Regions from separate parts of the Homo sapiens genome. Here all the other regions are linked to region 1. Evidence: promoter capture Hi-C in 16 types of primary human blood cells and fetal thymus (Javierre and others, 2016). All regions are on one chromosome and are shown on one strand. The core of a region is centred on a gene start or on the middle of the fragment in contact, and the rest is flanking DNA. Distances in the headings are between cores, read along the strand shown. Region 1 holds the start of DGKH (diacylglycerol kinase eta). Region 2 overlaps VWA8 (von Willebrand factor A domain containing 8). Region 3 overlaps VWA8 (von Willebrand factor A domain containing 8). Region 4 overlaps VWA8 (von Willebrand factor A domain containing 8).

Evidence for each region. The method cuts DNA at HindIII sites, captures the fragments that hold promoters and counts their contacts. A CHiCAGO score of 5 or more calls a contact.
Region 2: a fragment that was not itself captured here is called in contact with the fragment with the promoter of DGKH in region 1 in 3 of 17 cell types (monocytes, M0 macrophages and M1 macrophages); the score reaches 6.9 in monocytes.
Region 3: a fragment that was not itself captured here is called in contact with the fragment with the promoter of DGKH in region 1 in 5 of 17 cell types (M1 macrophages, megakaryocytes, monocytes and 2 more); the score reaches 10.7 in M1 macrophages.
Region 4: a contact is called between a fragment that was not itself captured here and the fragment with the promoter of DGKH in region 1, in 2 of 17 cell types (M1 macrophages and M2 macrophages). The highest score is 5.6, in M1 macrophages.

What each region holds. Positions count from the first base shown.
Region 1 is chr13:42,046,796-42,050,102 of GRCh38, reverse strand. DGKH (diacylglycerol kinase eta) reads right to left here and starts at 1,455. Exons shown (of 30, transcript NM_178009.5): 1 at 1,138-1,455. The coding sequence starts at 1,329. RefSeq lists a silencer at 1,149-1,678 and an enhancer at 2,219-2,308. The HindIII fragment of the contact is 8,345 bases long and covers 339-3,307 here.
Region 2 is chr13:41,645,974-41,649,280 of GRCh38, reverse strand. All of the region lies in intron 37 of VWA8 (von Willebrand factor A domain containing 8), which reads left to right. Among named protein-coding and RNA genes, the nearest start is that of MIR5006, 79 kb to the right of the region's middle. RefSeq lists a cis regulatory region at 730-741 and an enhancer at 663-807. The HindIII fragment of the contact is 1,020 bases long and covers 1,011-2,030 here.
Region 3 is chr13:41,692,132-41,695,438 of GRCh38, reverse strand. VWA8 (von Willebrand factor A domain containing 8) reads left to right here. Exons shown (of 45, transcript NM_015058.2): 30 at 2,467-2,577. Among named protein-coding and RNA genes, the nearest start is that of MIR5006, 130 kb to the right of the region's middle. The HindIII fragment of the contact is 810 bases long and covers 1,065-1,874 here.
Region 4 is chr13:41,757,201-41,760,507 of GRCh38, reverse strand. All of the region lies in intron 21 of VWA8 (von Willebrand factor A domain containing 8), which reads left to right. Among named protein-coding and RNA genes, the nearest start is that of MIR5006, 190 kb to the right of the region's middle. The HindIII fragment of the contact is 5,036 bases long and covers 1-3,307 here.

The DNA of each region.
Region 1 (3,307 bases), core at 206-2,705:
CACCGTTACCGGCCTCCACAGGCACTGAATAAAAATTATGTTTCCAAATAGGAGTTCATTGACCTTAGGGAAAATTTTTCATAAAAATAACTGTAGAATGAATTTTTTGCAAATTTATTTTTAAAAACGGTACCCCAAGCCAATGATTTTGTGGTTCCGTTTTCAATATCCTCGTTAAATTTCCCTACTGATAACAGACTCTCTCTGTGAAGATTTTTAAATTACAATGAAAATTAGAATACATAAAAATCCTTTAATATCCATAAGCATTTGCTTTGGTATGTTCATGATCAAATTAAAAATTAACTTTGAGACCTCACAGGTCGACAGCACAAGCTTCATTAACAAGAGTAACACACCATCCTAATGTCCACACAGCACAGAGGTAACTTCTCATTATTAAAAAGAACCATGGACGCATGGTTCTGAACCCTGCCTGCACTTGGCGGGAACCTGCGACACGAAAGCCTGGCCAGCCCTTGGAGCCATGCAGGGTGCGGTTAAGCCGCGAACACCATGTCCCACTTGCCTGCCTCGGGGCTTCTGCCTTCCAGACCGCAGCAGGAGGCAGAGGGGCAGGAAAGGCTGACCGGTGTCACCTTCCACCCACCCTCTGAGTGGGCCTAAGTGGGAAAGCAGCAGGGCTCACTGCAGCGCAGGCTGGTTGGCCAGCACATGCGCACGCTCCCCCGAACGGCAGGGAAGAAAAATTGAAACTCTCCTTTTAAGTTCCCTAAGTAGGAACTCGCGACTGCGCGTCAGCTTTTTCCCACGCTCCCGCCGAGCCGCGGGTTCCCTGCACCCGCCTCTGCCAGTCGAACTCCCTGGGAGCCCAGGCTCGCAGCCTCCCGCGCAGCCGCCGGGAATCCGTCCCGCAGCACCGCGGTCCAGCGCCCCCGGGCCCCGCCCCACCCCTCCCCGCCCCGCCCGCGCCCCAGGCCCCGCCCCGCCTCACCGTCTCACCATCCCCGCCTTCCCCGCCTTCCCCGCCTTCCCCGCCTTCCCCGCCTTCCCCGCCTTCCCCGCCTTCCCCGCCTTCCCCGCCTTCCCGGGATCGCCCGGCGCGTTCCAGCGCCCCCGCGCCCTCTCCACCTCCCGCTTTCCACGCGGCCCTCAGGCCCGCCTCCTCCGCCCTACCTTGGTCCGGATCTGCCCCGAGGTAGACACTTTGCGGATCAGTTTCTGGGGTCCCTCTTGCTCCGCTTCGCTGTCAGACGAATCCTCTCCCGGCCCCGCCGAGGCAGCGGCGGAGGTGACCGCGGCGCCGGCTCCGGCGGCCGCTCCTCCAGCGGCGCCCGGAGGGTGGTGCTGGCCTCCGGCCCCTGCCATCCTCTCCGACTCCTGCGGGGACACAGCACCGCCCGGCGGGGGCGGCGGCGTTGGTCAGCGGGTGGGCTCTGCCCGAGCGGAGCCCGGAACCCCGTGCCCGGCCGCCGCCGCCATCTTCCGTTTCCCTAGCTACCCCCGCGAGGTAAGGGTCGCCCGGGGCAGGCGCCCTCCAGGCAGGGGTCCACCCGGCTCCTCCGCTCGGTTCCCGCCGGAGCGGCGGCCACGGTGGGACGCAGAGGTAACGGACCCCCGCCCGCCTCGGACCCCTGCGCACCCAGCCTCGGATAGGACCAGCGCGGGTAGAGAGGATGGGGTGACAGGGTTTGGAGCAACATCTCTTCCACTCCCTTACGGTCTGGGTCCCTAGGATGGACAGGAGGGTGGGGGAGGCAGGAAACCTCTGCAGCCCACCCCGTAGTGGCGATGCCCGCACACCCCCTCTCACTTCTGGACAGCAGGGGCAACGCCGATCCCTGGGGAAGAATGGGAACCTGGAGCTTCCTCCCAGCACCCTTGGGTGCACCCGCCACCTCCTGAACCCCGAATCTCTCCAGAGACACTTGGGCCTCGCCGCGCGGTTCCAGCTGAATAAAAGTCCCCTCTGCCACCAAGACAGTCGGGGGCTGCCCCTCGTCGGTTTCCCCACCCCCAGCCCCACTCCGAGGACCGTACCTCTCCCGCCTCCGCCAGGGCCGTCGGGTCCCCTCAGCTCTCCTGACGGCGGCGTTCAGTTTCTGGCCCACCCCCACCCCCATCCGGCGCACACGGAAGAGAAGAGCATTTTCCGGGAGGTTCAGCTCCGCTCTGAGAACTTTTCGTTCAGAAAGAGCGATCCCCTTCGGCTAACAGGAAACTGGGAAGGGCGTGGAGAAAGCGCAGAAACAAGAGACTACACGCAGCCCAAGACGACAGAACGCACAAGAAGTGTCTAAGCTGAAGCGCTAACCGAGATTGCCTGGAAGAAAACAATACACTCGAGCCATGCGAACACCAGTACCCGAGACAAAAAGCCTTGGAAGTCCTGGCAGAGCCACTCCCTAGCCCGGACTAGAGCAGGAGGAAGTGGGATCAACAGGCTGTAGCCACCGCGCACAACTCCCCTGCAAGCTGGCTGCGCGGGCACTTGGGAACCGCGGACTGGCAGCGGGTTGTGCACGCTCAACGTCAAAGAAGCCTCACAGGTGTGAGGGGGCTGCGGTGAGGGGGCTGCGAGAGAAGACATTAAAACGACAGATCCCTCTTGTCATCCAAAGAGAACACCAAACTGGTGTTAGCTATATTTTTAAATAGGACAAAAAGTCCCTGCCAGACTGTGGAGTCTCTCCACCTGGAGAAAGCATTCAATCTCTGTTATGTTCATGCCTTTCAGTACCATTCCTTTCGTATTTTTTCAGTTGACATGACCTTTAAGGTTCCTCCAAACTAAGGTTCTAATTTTTTTTTTTAACTTGCAGTCTTACTCCCAACAAGAAATTTGATATATTAGAGCTAACAGTTCTAAGAAGTTTTAAGAAATAGTATGCAATCCCAATACTGGACATCACACTGTAAATTAAATTCATTAAAATGTAAAATGTGTTTAGTTCAAATATTTAAAGACAGGAGACTGCTGCTATGTAATAATAACAGAGAGGCTATTTCTGCAGCTTCTGTTGTCTCCTTTAGGAAAGGAAGGAGTTGGGCAAAATGAATTTTAAGAACGCTTAGAACTCTACAAATATGTAATTCTTTATCTACAAAGAACATATTTCTGGAAATTCTTAAAAGAGAAAAATAATCAAAATAATGGCCTTCATTCCCACCTGTTTGGTCATGGACAAGTCCAATATTTTGGAAATGTAGACAAGGACACCTAGTAAAGGGTCTTTTGAAAGAATAAACTTAGTTTAGTCTTCTCCTTTAATGTAAAGAAACTAAGGCCCCAACTGACAAACTGAGACCAAAGTCAAAATCATGCGGTTAGTATTCTAATGTTCTA
Region 2 (3,307 bases), core at 271-2,770, 400 kb after region 1:
CTTTTGGTTTAAAATATTAATATTCCTTTTTTGTAATCATAATGAAATCTGTTTAAAGAAATCTACTGCCCTATGTTTTTGTTGTTGTTATTGTTGTTGAGACAGAGTGTCCCCCATCACCCAGGCTGGACTGCAGTGGCGCAATCTCAGCTCACTGCAACTCCGCCTCCCGGGTTCAAGTGATTCTCGTGCCTCAGCCTCCCAAGTAGCTGGGATTACAGGCACCCCCCCACCACGCCCAGCTACTTTTTGGATTTTTAGTAGAGACGAGGTTTCACCATGTTGGCCAAGCTGGTATCGAACTCCTGGCCTCATGTGATCCACCCGCCTTGGCCTCCCAAAATGCTGGGATTACAGGCATGAGCCACCGTACTCAGCCCCTATAAGTTTTAAATTCTTAGGCTAAATGGAAACCATTAGCCTAATATTTTAAACTATCTCTTAAAGCATTTCTTTATTCCTGAAGACTCTAAGCATAAATGATGCTGCTTATAATTTATGACATTAATTGCCTTTAGCAGTACCGTGCTTCTATGTGTTATTGTTGCTATTATGAAGGTAATTATAATTGTATGTCTCCTGAGAAGATGAAAAAGTTTTTGTAGGTCTGTATGTAAAGTATTTGAAGAAAAGATTATTTTACGGCCCCGTCAAAAGTAGCTTCAAGCAAGAGCTATTGTTCAGGACCTTTTATAGACATAGATGAAATTCCTTTTGCCATTTGAACAGTGTTTACATTCGGGAAAGTTCACAGTTAAGTCTTTGACATACTGTGAAAGGATCTTTTGTTCTCTACAAAAACATACTTCCTCATCCTTTGAGTCACCTTGTTTTTATTCCCTTGTTTACTTTTCTGGGGAAATAATGCCCACCTCCCAAGTAATGTCAAGGGAAGAACTATTTCAGAAATCTAAGTTGTTCTGTATGAGGAAAGAGGGCTTGGATTTTGGCAGAAAAAAATCAGAAATATTTTTAAAACCTGAACCAGATAAATAATGTAATCTCAAGCTTCCAAAAATTATTTGGGTAGGGTTTTTTCCAATGCTAAAAAAAGGAAATCTTTTTTTATCATCATTATTACCAGTGATCAGATTCAGGAAGTGTGAGACACTTTACTGAGGGGACTACCGACACCGTCCAAAGGCATTTTTCTATTGTGTTAGGAAAGCTCTCCTCTGCTAACTACGTTGATTCTCCAAGACATGCATCATTTAATATTTTCTCCTAGGTGGTGGGTTTTATGATGAGCTTAGGCTTTAGTCAGTCAGACTTGAATTCTTTTTTTTTTTCCTGAGACAAAGTCTCGCTCCTTCGCCCAGGCTAGAGTGCAGTGGTGCGATCTTGGCTCACTGCAACCTCTGCCTCCCGGGTTTAGGCGATTCTCCTGCTTCAGCCTCCTGAGTAGCTGGGATTACAGGCATGCGTCATGATACCAGCTAATTTTTGTATTTTTAGTAGAGAAAGGGTTTCACCATATTGGCCAATCTGGTCTCAAACTCCTGACCTCAAGTGATCCACCCACCTCGGCCTCCCAAAGTGCTAGGATTACAGGCATGAGCCACTGCACCTGGCCCAGACTTGAATTCTTTTAGCGATGTATATTTATCAGTAAATAATGTGACTGATTCTACTCATGGTTTCAAAGCTGATTTTGAAGGGAAAAAACCATTGCTGTTTTGTGTATCAGCATATGCCCAATGCTAGCACAGTGCCCTGAACTTACTGGACACTCAGTAAGCATTTGTCAAATGAATGAAATAAATATATATGCATTCAGAGTGACAATGTCAAATAACAACCTTTTAAAATTCTTTTTATTTTTTTCAAATAAGTCTTTTAAATGAACACATTCTAATGTATTTAAGAAAATCTTATTTGTTTGTAGATATGCTCTGTGTGTTAATGTAACTGTTCATTTATCCTTACCTAATATGCATAAGTGGAAGATTACTTGTAGTTTAGGGATTATATTCAAACCCTTCTTTAGTCACGCTAAACCTGACACATCCAGAAAATGTCTCCCAAAAGCTTCTGATCCTCATTTATATCCTAAGTTTTACCACAGGCAGGCCATCAAAGTCAGTGATCTTCATGTTCTGGGGCATTTCCATTGGAGCTCTTTTTTTCTGTGTAAATGATAAACAGAGATGTACTTTACTGCTACTGTTAGTAAAGCTGTGTGTGTAATATGTGAGGAAAAGGTAAGGTACTGAAGCCTGCCCATCACTGTTAAGTATTCTACATGTATCTCTCCATTTTCTCTTTGTAGCTTCCTATGTGATAGAATGATGATAGTCCCATTTTATAGATGAAGAAACAGATTTTCAAACAGATTACATAGTACACCCAATGTCCTGTGGCCAGTAAGTGACATTTTCAGACGTGAGCCACTAGGGCAAGCATTGAGTCTGCAGATCATGTTCAGGATTGTCTGGTATGATGCAGTTCAGACCATACATAAATACAGTATTTTACTAACCTTCTGAAAGATATGCTAGCCCTTTAATCTAATGTCTTATTTACTGATGTATACAGTGCTTTCTATAAATCTGATATATATTAAAAAGGAAAAATGCTTGCCTTTCAGGCATATTTCTTGCTTTCCTAAACCATGATATGCTTTATAAAACATTGAATTTTGTACTATCAAGAATACATTCATTGTTTATAGCCAGTGTAATGTAGTAAAAAAAAAATCTGATAAACCTGGGTTTTAGAAGGAGATGGACTGAGATTTCAATCCTGGCTCCTCCAATTAATAACTATGTGATAATGAGTATGTTGCTATACATCTCTAAGCCTTAGTTTCCTGTCCTGCAAAGTAGAAATAATACCTAATATGGAGAATTATGAATATCAGAAGTAGTATATTTAAAATGCCTAGACTGTAAACATCAGGGCACCGGCACGTGGTCGTCACTCATCATCATTACTCACTGAATGAATCCATGAATGAATTAATGATTCAGATTAGGTTCCATTGTTCAACCCTACACATAAAAATCAGGAAAATTTGGCCGGGCGTGGTGGCTCACACCTGTAATCCCAGCACTTTGGTAGGCAGAAGTGGGCAGTTCACTTGAGGTCAGGAGTTCTAGACCAGCCTGACCAACATGGGGAAACCCCTTCTCTACTAAAAATACAAAATTAGCTGGGCGTGGTGGCACATGCCTGCAATCCCAGCTACTCGGGAGGCCGAGGCAGAAGAATCGCTTGAACCCAGGAGGTGGAGGTTGTGGTAAGCCTAGATTGTGCCATTGCACTCCAGCCTGGGCAACAAGAGCAAAACTCCGTCTCAAAAAAAAAA
Region 3 (3,307 bases), core at 220-2,719, 350 kb after region 1:
ATATTATAGAGAAGTACTTCCATGAATTCGGCTATTCCTTGCCTTTTTAACATAAAGCTTTGCTCAGATGCATGTCCCTGGTTAGTTTAAGAAGTTGTTCAAAAATTCCTTGCTAAAATAAAATCTTAAGTAAGGAAAGGGAAACTTTGCCATGCCTAAAAATAAAGACCCTCCCCTTCCCCCACTCCCCATGAGATTATTTATTACATCTGTACAAAGTTTAGAATTTCAGATTTAGGGACATTGAGGTCATCCAGAGGTTACTTTTCTCCCAGTTAAATACAAACATAATAAAATTGCTCACTCGCGTCTCCTCCCTGCCCCCCTTAAAGGAGTGCCAAAGCCACAGTTACATGTACTCATGTGTGACGCAAAATTCTATTTTTAAACCCAGACAGAATCTATCATTAGTCATTTACAGAAGGAAACCATTAACATCTAAAAGGATGGAGCAACAGAACTCCTTCATGTTGCCAATTGCTTATAAACTAATTCTAAATACAGCAGTGGCTGGAAATACATGTTTTCTGTCACTTAGAAAGATACAGTTTTTCAGTTCACTTATGCCATGTTATGAATATGTAAGTATTAGACCCTAAAAAGGTAGGAAAATGGAAGACGATACTAACTTCTTTTTCTGCTTGATCATATTTGTTTAATCAACTGCTTATTCTTATGCTTACTCATTTTTGGGCATGAAACATTTTTAGGACTTCCTTTGCTTACAAAGGCTAATATTATCCCAAATTGCTTAAGTGCTAAGAATTCATTTTAACGTTGTACATATTTATTATACAAGAAATATTTTTTCCATCAAAAAGTACTCATTCAAAAAATATTTAATCTAGAATAGAGATTATAAATTTTTAACTTAATTTTATTTTTTTCTTAAGGAAAACTCTAAGATATCATTACCATTTTCAAAACTGTCAAGTAGTGGTGAATGACACTTCTTATATGTTAATTTTTAAAAGAATATTTCTAACACACATTCTTAATGGAGAATTATATCTTATACAGAATGATACATTCTAAGGGTGATGTTTATGAAAGAAATTTAAGCTTGGTTAACATGCTTAGTAAAATTTTTTAATACAAATAAAATTCAGAGTATATGGTGTGAAGTGAGTTATATGGTGCAAATACTATTTTAATTCTTGAACACTTCCACAAAATTAGCTTGTAAAATAAAATTAAACCCACACTGAGATGCTAGATTTGCAGATGAATCATTCATTTTTTTACATTTCTTTTTATTTCTCTAACTAAATTATATGACAGAAGGCAAGGGTCATGATTAATTCATTGTTGTATTCTTTATATATTAAATATAAGCTCCTCAATAAATATTATGGAAAAAATGAACAAACACTTCACATTTTATTGTTTTCTATATTTTTCAAGGTTTTTATTAATTCTTCATGTGCTTTGTGACTTTATTTTCTCCAAAAGAAATTCTTCTTGAAATGAAAAGTTCACAAGAGTTAGGATAACTGGAGGAGCCCCACATTTAAAATAAAATAAAACAAAGAAAGAAAAGACACCCGCATAACAATGAGGTCTGACAAATAACTTGCAGGTACCTTTCTGCAAACCTGTTAGTCTAATCTTCAAAATTCTTTATATTTTAACTAAAAAGCCAACTTCTTTGCATCCCTTTAAAATATTTAATTTTTTCTGGCTTTCTCAATGTTAAGTTTTTATTTCATGTATTTCAGTTCATTTATTTCAACACATAAGGTTTATTTATTTTCTTAAAAAAACGTATCCTAATTACTGAAAGATTACATCATTGCATAGCTGTGATTAATAATGCTGCAGAAATCTGTTGTTTGTACTTTATTACAGCACCAGTTATGAAGGTTCTTCAAGCTTGGTGAATTTCTAAATGAAGGAACATTCATTACTAGCTAGTTTCTTGGAGTCCTTCATATTTCTTGCTTAGTCCTCTTTATATCTATTTTATACCTATTTTCTAAATTGAACCTGGATTTGTGAAAAAGATAAATGAGATTTAATTATGCACAATATAAGAGAGCTTTCAACTGAGCATTCTCTAAGTATAATTTTGTTACAGGTAGATGAATTTCTTAAAATCATCAATCCTTGTAATTTCCTTATAACTAGATAATAAAACAGAATCATGGTTCAACTAGCTTATATTTAAAAGGGAATGGTTTTTACATAAAAATATTTAAAGAGAATACCTTCTGCATCACATATTTAGAAACGTCTTCATAAAACCACCAAAAATTTTAAATTCTTAAATTAAGAAGCACTTAATTCTTTGTGATTCTTAAGAAAAATCACTTAATGTCTTTGTGATATTTCTTAAGTATTACAATATTGTCTTTGTTTTGATTTATCACTATAACCTTCACTGTCAGGTTGCCAAGAGGTTGCTGCTTTAAAAAAAAAAAAAAAAAGAACAAATCTTGAGCTTTTCACTGTTTTTATCATTTGCAGAGTAATGTTATCCTGTTGTTAGATACTACTGGCCGGGCCCTTCATCGTCTCATCCTCCCTTCCGAGAAGTTTACATCTAAGAAACCTTTCTGGTGGAACAAAGAAGAAGCTGTAAGAAACACCACATTTGTCCCACAAATTGCCAAGGATTTCTATAGCTTTCTAACCAGAAAGATGCATGCATGCCCATCCCTTTAAGTGCCTTTTTTGTTGTAATGCACAAGAGAATTTCCTGTTATGCACGTATAGATTTTAACATGATATATATAACCATAGATATGTGTATAATTAAATATCAATAAATTCTTTTTATGACATTATACTTGCATGAAGATTTGCCAGGACTGGACTAACAATAAGAGAAAATTAAAAACTATTTGAATATCGTATTTTTAACAAATTTCTGATCATGGAGTCAATTTAACCTGTTTTCCAGTTATGTAGTTATGTTTTGGATTTATATGATGAAACTGTGAGTATGATACCTAATTTCCTCCATTAGACAAATAAGTGTTTTAGTTTATTAACTAAATTAAACTAGTAAGTAAATAGTTTAGGCCAACACAAGAGAATTTATTCTGCCATTCAGAAAAAAATAATGGATTTAAAATAAGGTTTACCCTCTGCCCTGCAAGTCAACATACTTAGGTCTTAAAAGACTATGAAAAGAGTGATTTTTTTTAATGTCATAAATGTATCCTAATATAAGAAACAAAGTGTTTCCCATGTGTTTATTTTATGGTGTAAATTCCATGGTTAATCATCAGATAGCCTGTTATTTCTTAACAATGTTTGGTGTTGTTTTTAAAAATTTATTCTGAAGAGGCTTTAGTACAAAGTT
Region 4 (3,307 bases), core at 521-3,020, 290 kb after region 1:
AATGAACAACTTAAAGCTAACTTAGATTGTTATTGTTTTAATCCTAGGAAGTAAAAAATATATAGTATAATAGAGCATTGAATTGAGTTATAAGAGTTAGTTTCTGGTCTGGGTCTTTTCACTAAGTGATCAGTTCTTGAGAGAGAATTATAAGAGAATAAAGGGCAGAGTTAGTGGGTCAAAGGAGAAAGAGGAAAGGACTCAGGGAAAGCTGAGATATGGTGAAAAACTGCCTTTTGGGATTTATACCTCTGCCCATGACAGGGTAGTGGTACCAGATTAGCCCTACCACAATAAAAACTATAAAACTGAACAAAATTCACAAACACTAGGAAAAGAAAAACTACTAGGGATCTTTGAGCTGAACAACTACCAGAGTTCCTTCATTAAATAACCCTGGTATTCAGAAGGGTATTTATCTTATAAAGTCTATGTTTAGAAGTAGGACTAATCTATCCCTAAAGTAAGAGTTACTCCATACCTATCTTTACAAATTTTAAAACTAAGCCCTGATAAAGAAGGATGCTTGCTATTTAATATTATTTTGGAAGTTTTGTCTCATACAAAATGGCTTTAAAAATAAAAATAATGGGTATTTGGGGAGGGAGGGAGGAATACCTTGAAAAAATCAGGTGATTCAACAGTAAATTGACTTCATACCTGAACAAAACTTAACACTCAACCAAGAAGACCGCAAAATCCAAACACTCAGCAACATAGCATTCATTGAGTCAAGCATTCAATAGGAAATGACTAGACATACAAAAAAAGCAGGAAAATTGGTCAATAGAAATAGACTAAAAATGACAGGATAATGGAATTAGCAGACAAGGACTATAAAACAGTTGCCATAAATAGATTCAAACATTTAAAGGGAGAAAAATGAACATAATGACGGAATAATTGGAAATTCTTAGTGTAAAAATGACAACCCTAAAAAAGCAGCTTCACATACACACAATTGTAGTCTCAAAAGAGAGGAGAAAAAAATGGGACAGAAAAATATTTTGAAGAGATAATGGTAGGAAAATTCTCAAATTTGATAAAAAAGATAACATCACCAATTCAGGAAGCTCAATGAACTTCAAGCAGAATAAACAAAAAAAACACTACATAGCATATAATCAAATTGCTAAAAACCAAGAGAAAAATCTTTAAAATTACCAGAGGAAAAAAGACGTATTACCTATAGGGGAACAATGATAAAAGTGACTGCTGACTTCTCCTGAGAAATAAATATGAACCACAATTCAATTGAAGTGCTGAAAGAAAAAAAATATCAGTATAGATTAGTATATTTGGCAAAAATATTCTTCAGAAGGCAAAATAATGACATTTTCAGACAAAAACTGAGTTTTTTTATCAGCAGACCTGTGTAATGCAAAAAAATAAAATTACAATTCAGAATTTCCTATGAACATAGATGCAAAAATTTTTAACAAATGTTAACAAATCAAATTCAACAATATATAAAAAGAATAATATGTCATAACCAAGGAGGTTTTATCTCAGGAATGCAAGGCTAGCTTAACATTTAAAAATCAAATTATATAACACATTTACAGAATAAATAAAAAACCATATGATCCTCTAATTGCCACCAGAAAAATCATTTGAGAAAATTCAATATCCATTCCTGATAAAATATCACATAAATTACAAATATCAGGAAACTTCCTCAATCAAGAGGCATCTATAAAAAGCCTATAGCTAAACTTCATATTTAAAAATGAAAGACTAAACATTTTTCTCATGATTAGGAGAAAAGACAAGAATATTAACTACTCATATTATGCTGGAGGTGCCAGCTAGCACAATAAAGCAAGAAAACTTAATAAATGGCATGCATGTTATAGATGACACAATTGCATGAATGTGTATATAAAAAACCTTAAGAAACATATAAAAAAAGCATTAGAACTAATAAGTTAAACAAGGTCATAAGATACAAGGAAAATGTACAAAAATCAATTGTATTCCATATATATATATTCCATATATTCCATATATATGGAATATATATACTGGCATATATATATTCCATATATTCCATATATATGGAATATATATACTAGCGTATATATATATATATATATATATATATATATACTAGCGTATATATATATATATATATATATGCTAGTATCTATAGCAATGGGAAAAAATTTAAAAATACTATTTACAGTAGTATAAAGAATATATTTAGGAATAAATTAATTTAACAGAATATATGCAAATTTTAAATTTGCTATTGTTAATAGTGTGTAACAAGGTCAATAGACACCATTATTTCTTCAAATACTTCTAACTTGCTGATGGCTGTTTGAAATGGAACTGAAGGTTATCTGTTTCATACTTGTGAGATGATGAGCTTCCGTCGTAGTAAATTCTTCCCCTTATCTTCATCTACCTCAACATCCCCCTCAGTATCCTCAGTATCTCTGCTATATAGTGTTCATTCTACATTATCTGGAAATAGAAGGTATTCTTTGTTGTTTACAATACATTTTTAATCCTGATTTTCTGCTACCGTCATTTCTGCCAATATTAGAGAATTGTAATTACAAAGCTAGATCCATGAATTGGCGAAGCTAAATATAATTCTTCTCAATATGTTAGGCATTAAATGTTAAGAATTTGTTCCGTAGAAAGCCCTCTTCTCATTGTCATATTACTTGTCCCCCACATTCCCACTCCCAACTTTCCATGTTTCTTTCTTCTATCACCCATCATTTCATTTCCTAAATTTTATATAGGTCAACCACATATTTCAGAAAATTTCTAGCCTTTTCTAGTGCTTTAAGAACATAGGATCTTACATGTTCTCTCTTATAAGTGGGAGCTAAACATTGAGTATCCATGGACATAAAGATGGCAACAATAGATAGTGGGGACTGCTAAAGGGCAGAGAGAAGGAGGGGAGCAAGGATTGAAAACTAACAATTGGTTACTATGTTTACTGTGTAGATGGCAGGATCAGTCATACCCTAAATCTCAGGATCACACAATATAGCCATGTAACAAACCTGCACATGTACCCCCTAAATCTAAAATAAAGGTTGTAATTATTTTTTGAAAAGAAGACTAATACTGGTTCTTTTACTCCAGCTTCATCCAAATTTTTACCACACTATTTTTATATCTTCTCATGGTTCTTTGTATGAACGATGTATTATATAAACCTAGGACTTTCAACTCAAAAAATTTTTAAGTATTTGTCATATTAAAACTACGAGGCTGTGTATTATAGGAGATATAGGAAGAAATAAGAAACATAATCCTACAGGAGCTGTAATACTGTTCTTAC